Linked DNA regions of Homo sapiens: region 2 is linked to region 1. The links are contacts of gene promoters, found by promoter capture Hi-C in blood cells and fetal thymus (Javierre and others, 2016). All regions are on one chromosome and are shown on one strand. Each heading gives the region's core, a stretch centred on a gene start or on the middle of the fragment in contact. The rest is flanking DNA. Distances are from core to core; before and after follow the strand shown. Region 1 holds the start of TRPM6 (transient receptor potential cation channel subfamily M member 6). Region 2 overlaps TRPM6 (transient receptor potential cation channel subfamily M member 6).

Region 1 (4,711 bases), core at 1,557-4,056:
ACTTTGCAAACACAGAGAGACAACTCTGGAAAAAAACAAGGAAGAAAGCTTTTAATAGCATGTAGGGAGGCATAATAATGTTGACCTAACTAAATATTGACCTAACCAAAAATTATGAGATAACTATATTCAGAGGATCTATGGAAGGAATAGGTAGGATGCATGTAAGTGGTAGTGGCAGGAAAACAGAAAAGAGTTAAATCCACACATTTCTTGCAGGAAAGTCAATGCATGATGACTAAACCTCAAAAACCAAGAAGGAGCAATTATAAGGAATATCTAGAGATACAGACAAATAGTAACTAGTTAAAAGAGATGAACATGATTACTTCTCTTAAAAAGCAGGAAGTGATGGAGGGTTCTACTGTTTTTAGATATTAACCCTATGGAATTAATTGATTCTGAACAATGAGAACGTAAAACTTCAATAAAACTAAGAAGTAAAGAAAAAAGGCACTAGTGAGACTCACATCATAATATCTTACCTAACAGTGATGGATTTTACAGAAAATAGTTGCCATGTAGACTTCTGATGTGTCACAAAGGAATAACTGAGTTATAGGTAGGATGGTCACTTTCAGTTCCAGCATGGTATTGATTCTACCAGAAGTATAATGAAAATCACTCAGATTATTTGGGCTGTTTATACTGAAAACTCATGATTTAAAACACAGTGAGGCCAGGCACAGTGGCTCAGGCCTGTAATCTTGGCACTTTGGGAGGCCAAAGAGGATTGCTTGAGCCCAGGAGTTCAAGACCAGTCTGGGCAACACAGCGAGACTCTGTCTCAAAAAAATAAAATAAAATAAAAAGTGAGAAATTTGAAAAAGAAGGAAAAAGAGAGAAGCCATATTTCAGGCACAGTATTTACCAAATGCTTGATAGTTTTGGCATAGATGTCCTATCCAAAAAATTAACTATGATAGATAATTGTAAATAGGCAAGATAAGACCAAAATTTGTGACAAATTGCAACATATTGCACGATTCTTTCCCTTCACCTCTGGTATAATGATCTCAAATGCTATTCATGCCCTTGTCTATCAAGACAAGTTTAACACTACCAAAGGGTACTAGTCTCCAGTTTTGGCCCAAAAAACAAAACTCATGCTAACTCCTACCCTAGATGGTTACCACTCCTGGTGGGAAACATAAGAAACAACCAGATTCTTAAAGTCAAGCCCAGATTCCAGTCTGGCCAAAATAGCTAACGCTTTATCAGTCCTGTAAGAACCCAAAGCAGATGACAGTGAAACATCAAAATCTGTATACAGGGGGAAAGAAATTGAATAACTCGTTTCCCACTTTAACAATTAAAGGTGATCATTTCTCCCTAGAACAAATAATCACAAATGATGTGTATGACTAGAACATCTATGTTCTCAGTGTCTTTTTTTCTCTTTTTTTTTTTTCTTTTTTATGTTCTCCGTGTCTTAAAGCACTGACCTGAGTTCAAATCTCAAATCTGCTTTTCTCCTTTGGTTTCATTTTCCTCACCTGTAAACCGGTGGAGATGGGAGAGACAGGATACTTGGACTTTATAGGATTACTGCCAGGATGAAATAGTTAAGAATCCCAAACTCTTACAACCTGCTAAATACGTCAGGCATTATTCTAAGTGCAAATGGCATGTAGCATTTCAATTCATCTTGAAACTACAAATCGTATTATCCCATTTTCCAGATGAGAAAGCCGAAGAACAGATGTTAACTCGCCCAAAATCACAGGTAGTGATGCAGCTGGGATGCTAATTCAGGCTACCTGGCTCCAGAGCATATGTTCTTATCAGAGCAGGCTGAAATGAGCTAACGTTTGCTAAGCTGCCTGGACTATTCCTGAAATACAATGTGCTCAATTATACTTATTTTTCATACACAGTGTGAGAAAGTCCAGACAAAATAGGCGAGACCAAGAAATTACCAGGATCTCCACTACTCTCCCAAGCGTCTCCAGTGCTCTCCCAACAGCCAGGAGCACCCTCCCTCTCCAAGCCCCCAGAACTTCCTGTTGCGCCATATGCCAGCGGTGGAGAGGAGCCAGCGGGGACTCCTGAGGTTGCAAGTCCGGGCGGCGCCGCGTTGGGGAAGGAAGCGGACTGCGGCGGGGCGGGTGTTTACCGTAACCGGCGCTGTCATCGCTCCGGGACTCCTGCACGGGGAACACTGGGCGCACGGGGACGCGCAGGGGCGCGGAGGGACGGCCGTCTGGGCACTTCTCCAGCCGCCTCGGAAAGCCGCGACCCCCGGCTAGTCAGCGTCCGGGTCTGAGATCTGTGCCCGTGGCAGCTCAAAACGCGCCTTCTCTCCTCCGGATTCTCAGCTCAAGCCACCTCCGAACTCCTCTCCCTCCGGCCCGGAGCGGAATCAGAGCTGCCTCCTCTCCCGGGGTGTTTCCCACCGCCCCGAGCTGAACCCCCGACCCCCGCTAGGTTTCCGCTCTGACACCACCTCCGCTATGGCCGCATCCCAGCTCTTGAAACGGGGGCTGCGGGACCTGCCCTGTAGTAGCGTACACTACCTTAGATAGGATAATCATCTTTGGGTGGAGACCAGAGAACTTGAAAGCCGGTATTTCATAAATCCTAGCTATTCTAGATCCTCGTTAGATGTAGTGTCCCTGGCCCCACCCACTTCTATCTAAGGCCGGGGGCGCAGATCTAGCGAATCGCCTAAGGTCCTTGTTCCCCGCCAGTCGAGCAGCCTGAGCTTACCTGCAAGCGCTCCAAGACAGGTTGTTCTTTCATCTTTGATTTGCAGGCCCTGCTCCCAAAGCCCTGTCTGAGCTTTTAACTGTGGAGGCAGAAACTCTGGGCTCCACCTCCACACGCTGCCTTTTACAGCCCAGTGGATCTGTCACAATACCTTTCGGCTTCAGTTACCTAACTGCCTAGAAAAGAAGGTGACTCTCAGTTTCCTTCGATAAAAGAAGAATAACGAGGATCAAATGGGATGGCCACTGTCATCACAGACATCCTTTGTAGTAATGTATTGTTACTGTTGAGTCAGTGTGGGGCGTGAGGAGATCAGAGATTTAAGCTAACGCACTGCTTTTACTACCTGTGACTTATTGGGCATGTCAAGCCTCAGTTTATTTATCTATGCAATGGGAATAATAGGGACAAAAATCCAGTTCCCTCACAAGGTTACAATGAACAAAGGAAATCACTTAATGTGCTTCATGTGTAACATACAATACAAATGTTTTGTTATTTCTGGTTTTTTTTTCATTTTTTTTGTTTGTTTTGTTTTGTTTTGGTGGATTCCTCTGGATAGGCATCTTCTCTTTCTTTCTTTCTTTCTTTCTTTCTTTCTTTCTTTCTTTCTTTCTTTCTTTCTCTCTTTCTTTCTTTCTTCTTTTTTTAGAGATGGAGTCTTGCTCTGTTGCCCAGGCTGGAGTGCAGTGGCAGGATCATGGCTCACTGCATCCTTGACCTCCCAGGCTCAAGTGATCCTTCCACTTCAGGCTCCAGAGAGTAGTTGGGACTACAGGCACACACCACAGTGCCTGGCTAATTTTATTTATTTATTTATTTATTTATTTATTTATTTATTTATTTATTTTAGAAATGGGGTCTCACTATGTTGCCCAGGCTGGTCTCAAACTCTGGACTCAAGCGATCTTCATGCCTCAGCCTTCCAGAGTGCTAGGATTACAGGCGTGAGCCACCATGCCCGGCCTAGGCAGTCTTGATTAAGGTTGTGGTCAGTGATTTGGGGTGGATCCCAGGGTGTTGGCAGAGGTGGCACAAAGCACACAGGCAAAATGATGCTCACATTATTACAAGTGTAATTAACAATGCTAGTCATTCATCCCTGACAACCGACTTAAAATTAGGGACACCTACTCATTTAGTTTATTATGAATTTTTGCCTGGTGAATTCACATTTGCAGACAGTTTACAGGTTTTTTCCCCTCATTTCTCAATGTGGTTTTAATAAGCATTTCTTTGTTTATTGGAAAATTGTAATCTCTCATATGTGTATTGGCATTTTGTTGTTTTTCTTTTTGTTGTTGTTGCTGTTGTTGTTGAGCCAGGGTCTCGCTCTGTCACCGGGCTGGAGTGCAGTGGCACTATGTCGGCTCACTGCAACCTCCACCTCCTGGGCTCAAGCAATCCTCCAGCCTCAGCCCCCGCAAGTAGCTAGGACTACATGTGCAAGCCACTACACCTGGCTAATTTTTGTAATTTTTGTAGATACGGAGTTTCACCATGTTGCCCAGGCTGGTCTCGAACTTCTGAACTCAAGCAATCCACCCACTTCAGCCTCCCTAAGTGCTAGGCATTTGTTGTTCTTCTATAAACACATTTAATCTCCTTTCCTCTCCTTAACCCATCTTCTTTAAAGCGTTAATCTGTAAACAGTTAACAGGTTCTGAAAGCTCTTCTAAGGCAAGTAAATCCTTCTCGATCTCTGTCTTCCATACAATTTCTTTGTTAGGTCTCTTACAGTGACTGGGTCAGAGAGTTCTCAGAAATCTTCAGACCCACCAAGAAGAGTAGCCATTTGGAACTCAAGATTTGTAAGAAGTCTACCATCTTCTAGTTTACCATCTTTGGTAAACCTACATGTTAGGATGATCATATATTCTTTTCAGATCAAGCTTCAAGGCATTTAGAGCCTGAAATACAAGGGCAATGTGAAGTGCTTAAAGCATTGAATGTACTAGTTTACAAGCTGCCTTTGGTTCCCAAGCTGTATCAGAAACATCTG
Region 2 (4,711 bases), core at 1,438-3,937, 110 kb before region 1:
AAAAATAGAGGAACACATTTAACTTCTGTCAATTTGCTTCCATTTACAAGAACAATTCTGTTTTAAAAAAATGCATTTCATCACATATAGCCTTCCATATTTTCACACGATGCCATGCACCCACAATTAGTAATAAATCCAACAGTAACTCAGATCACATTATAGCTTCCTAATATGTTCAGTCTCTCCAGTGTGTCTCCTCCTCTTTCCTCAAACTTCTGAATGTCCCCCATACCGCCTGCCTCCCTCAAAATCCCACACATAGGCACACCCAGCCGACGACTCTGCCTCGAGACCTGGGTCCCCACCAACCTTGTCTGCCTTCCCGTCTACTCTGGCCATATCCTGTCCCGTTCCCCTGCTTCGGGCAAAAAGCCAGACCCTCCATTTTCCCAGCTTCTTAGGGACTTCTCTTCAGCAAATGGCCTCCTCCCTCCACTCCTGAGTTTCTCCCTTGCTGGTGGATCATTTTCAGGACCATGCTGTTTTATTTATTGCCACATTACGCAAAATCCAACAAAAAAACCTTACCGTGTCCCCATACCAAGCTTCCCTGCACCGTAATACTTCTCCCAAAAGCCACCTGTAATTGCAGTCTCTGCTTCTCCTATTCTGTCTTCACCCACTTCAGTGAAGCAGCCGCCAACTCCACTGCACAACAACCGCCGGTCAGACGCCCTGAGAACCCCACTCCCCATCCAACCAGCACCCTCCATCTACCTCCTCCTCCCCTCTGGCTGCTGCCAGACACACCATGTGGCCTCAGGCGGCTGCGCTTGCTGTTCCTTCCGCCAGGGGCGCTATTCCACCAGACGCCCCTGCCTCGCCCACTGCCTCACTTCTTTCAGGCCTCCACTCAATGCCCTCAGAGCGACCTTCTAGAACCAGACCATCTAAACAGTCCACTCAACCCCCAGCTCCGCTAGATTTCACGCCACCATCATTTCCTGTTCTCTCCAGCTACTTTATTTTTCTTCATAGCTCTTTTACTGCCTGATAATAAATTACAAATCTATTTTTGTGGTTCCTTACTTAGGTTTTGTTCTCCATCCACTTCATTTCTCTCACCACCTACACACATGCGCACACACACACACGCGCGCGCGCATGAATGTAAGTCCCATGAGGACAAGGATTCTTATGTCTTATTAACCACTTATTCCTAGTAACTAAAAGAGTGCCTGGAATATAGTAGATGCTTAATAAATATACTTTGATTACATGAATATTATATGTTGTTAAATGTTTCAAATTATAAAGAACTCAAACCTCTGGGATTTGAAAGATCTTTCTACACCTTTAGATATTCTAGCAGAATCACGTTGTGTTAGTGGTTTCAGAATGGAAAAGATTTATATCTTTTACCTTTCTGATGTCACTCGGATTCGTTCCTCACAACTACAATTCACATCTTCCATCTTCTCATGGAAGTATTTTTCCACGCACTGCTCCTCAAAATCATGAAGTTTTTTCAGATCCTCCTTACTGAGGTAGAGTTCTATAGAAATAAGTATGAAACACAGAAAGAATCATTATTCACCTCAGGGCATGAGTGGCTTTTCTTCCACTTGTATTGAAAATGAGAAACTATAGCCTGTTGTGATAAGTTTGTCACCTTGTCAAACTATTTCTAATATTAATGCAGAAACAGCACCAATAAACAACTGGGAGCTGGGCGCAGTGGTTCACGCTTGTAATCCCAACACTTTTGGAGGCTGAGCAGGGGTGGATCGCTTGAGCTCAGGAATTAGAAACCAGCCTGGGCAACACAGGCAGACCCTCTCTCTACAAAAAAATTTCAATATTAGCTAGGCGCCTGTGGTCCCAGCTACACAGGAAACTGAGGCAGAAGGATGGCTTGAGCCTGGGAGGTCAAGGCTGCAGGAGCTGTGATCACGCCACTACACTCCAGCATGGGCTAAAAAGCGAGACCCTGTCTCAAAAAAGGAAAAGAAAAGAAAGAACTGGAAACACCAGCCTGGGTCTCTCCTACTCATTCTTTGAAAATGACTCATATATAGAATTCTTTCTCTTCAATATTTTCACAGGTTAGAATGCTTTCACATTTAAGAAAAATTCACTGCGTTTATATGAAAATGGGGAATCTGTCTTCTTTTCTCTCTGCCAACACTTTCTAAAATTAATTAAATTTTAATTGATTCATATTAGATGTACCTATTTTTGAGATACATGTGATAATTTGATACATTCATATAATCACATCAGGGCAATTGGTGGCACAAGCCTGTAGTCACAGCTACTCAGGAGGCTGAGGCAGATCTCCTTAAATATTTACCTGTCCTTTAAGATAGAAACATTTGAATTATTCTCTTCTAGCTATTTTGAAATGTATAATCAATTAATTTTAACTGTAGTCAACCTACTGATGGCAGGGCATGGTGGCTCACACCTGTAATCCCAGCACTTTGGGAGGCCGAGGCAGGTGGATCACTTGAGATCAGGAGTTCAAGACCAGCCTGGCCAACATGGTGAAACCCCACCTCTAGTAAAAATACAAAAATTGGGGGTTTCCTCTCTCGGCTTTGGAGCCCCCCTCCCTCTATCTCTGTACCGGGGAGCTTCTTCCTTCTTATTTGCCTATTAAACTCTCAGCTCCTTAAAACAAACAAACAAAAAAAATTAGCTGGGTGTGGTGGTCCATGCCTGTAATCCCAGCTACTCAGGAGGCTGAGGTGGGAGAAACATTTGAACCCAGGAGGCAGAGGCTACAGTGAGCCGAGATCGCTCCACTGCACTCCAGCCTGGGCAACAGAGCGAGACTCCATCTCAAACAACAACAACAACAACAACAACAAAAACCCTACCAATCTATTGAACACTAGGTCTTATTTCTTCTATCAAAGTGTATATTTGTGCTCATTAATCAACCTGTCTTCCAACTCTTTTAGCTATTACAATGACAGTAAATAACCAATAGGTTAAATGCAAGATTAGAAGAAGGCAGTCTATTGAAATTAATCCAGTAAGTATAAGAAAGTTTCACCTTGTTACGCAGAGTTTGTGCATACTAAATCCTTCTACTGAAGAATGAGATGTTATTATTACCATTCAATGGCCAATCACAGCTGTATACCTTCTCTGACACAATTATAAATAACTCATTAAAAAGACACATCACTAAGTGATATTATAAGGCTAACACAATTCTTCATCAAACTCCAGCATTCACATTTGGTCTATTACCTTGGCTTTCACTGTTGCCTAATAGAATAATATACCATCTTTTAAGCAAGTTTATAATACTTAGAAAATATATAATGAAGTGATGCTGCTAAAAGGATTAAATTGGAAAGTTCTCTTTCTTGAATGGTTTTGCTTACATTAGGAGAAAAAGAACTAATACAATTCTCCAGAATTTATTTAAAATGCAATTGTTACATTATTTTCTGTTAAAATTAATGACAAAAAATCTGAATTTTAAATTGAAAACATGGCTAAAAGTATTATTCAGCTGTAAAATGTATTCACAACTCAGGTATACAGTGCTTTCTGATTTAAATGGCAGGAAAAAAATTTTCAGACACTGAAAAGATTCGGTATCTCCCACCCCCTACCCAACTCTAATGTCTTCTTTCACTAAAGAATCTCCTATGAGCAAGAAACTTTACAGGTGTCATGATGTGAACCTTATGTGGATCCCTGAGAGCAAACAATCCAGAGTAATTCCAATGACAGGCGCAGCTTGCAGTATGTGGCGCTTTCCTGTAATTGTCCGCAAGGTGGCACTGCTGCCCCTTGTGTAAATGTCTTTATCCTCAATATAAAGGATCAGAAGCAATGTTATGAAAATTCAACAATGTTCCACAAAGCTCAGGGTGAATTCATTTTAAACTTTACTTGAGTTTTATATGAATCATCCTATAAGCACAGACCAAGGTGAACCCAGGAAACGTTCTTTCATGTGGTACTAGGAAGTCTGGGCAAATCCTAGTCAATTCCAGGATTTATCAAGTGATTCACATTCTGCTATTAGGTTGCAATGGTTCTGCAGCCAAAGCCTGGGACGTCTCTCTATTAGCGGCCTGAAATTTACAGTATAATTATAAGCCTTCAAGTTAACTTCAGGTATGCTTTGGCTTTCGTACAAAGGCTGAATCTCTTGGTCAGGGAGCAGGGTATGAAAAAGAAAAAAAAATCTTCAAAGTGACTTAGGAGGAGAAAAAATACTTCACAGAGTCACCTACCACCAGCAAAAGCATATCACCCTGTCAACCCCATAATATACTGCAGGGGATGACCTGTCCCCCTAAGGACCTACCTAAACACATAAATAGCCCGCTATCCCCTTAGCTGAAACTCCTGGAGTCCAGAGTATTTTAGAATTCAGAACTGTTTTTTTCTAGTTTCAGAAAATTAATATAGTGAGTATGTCATAAATGAAGTGAAATCCCTAGTTAAGATTAAAGCAATCCCTAAAATCAAACATATTGCTATTTTCTGCAGCCAACATCAATGAATATTCATACTACAAGAAATAAAGAGAATAAATGGCTTCGCATCAATTCTCATCAGCCTTTTTTGGCCAAATGAGTCTTTCCCCAATTTGTGAAGAAAAAAGGATTTCAGTTTTCAGAGGTATTTTAGATTTAGGAATTGGGAAGAGGATTGCGCATTTATGCCCCCTGCTTCCTGTATTTCTGGGAACTATCTAGAAATGGGCCTGGTACCAATTGTGGAACTGCTTGACAGG

The links. The method cuts DNA at HindIII sites, captures the fragments that hold promoters and counts their contacts. A CHiCAGO score of 5 or more calls a contact.
Region 2: a fragment that was not itself captured here is called in contact with the fragment with the promoter of TRPM6 in region 1 in 1 of 17 cell types (neutrophils); the score reaches 6.6 in neutrophils.

The regions. Positions count from the first base shown.
Region 1 is chr9:74,885,115-74,889,825 of GRCh38, forward strand. TRPM6 (transient receptor potential cation channel subfamily M member 6) reads right to left here and starts at 2,807. Exons shown (of 39, transcript NM_017662.5): 1 at 2,710-2,807. The coding sequence starts at 2,742. RefSeq lists an enhancer at 1,899-2,193. The HindIII fragment of the contact is 4,553 bases long and covers 47-4,599 here.
Region 2 is chr9:74,770,338-74,775,048 of GRCh38, forward strand. It overlaps TRPM6 (transient receptor potential cation channel subfamily M member 6), which reads right to left. Exons shown (of 39, transcript NM_017662.5): 25 at 1,366-1,498. Among named protein-coding and RNA genes, the nearest start is that of TRPM6, 120 kb to the right of the region's middle. RefSeq lists an enhancer at 838-887. The HindIII fragment of the contact is 4,282 bases long and covers 547-4,711 here.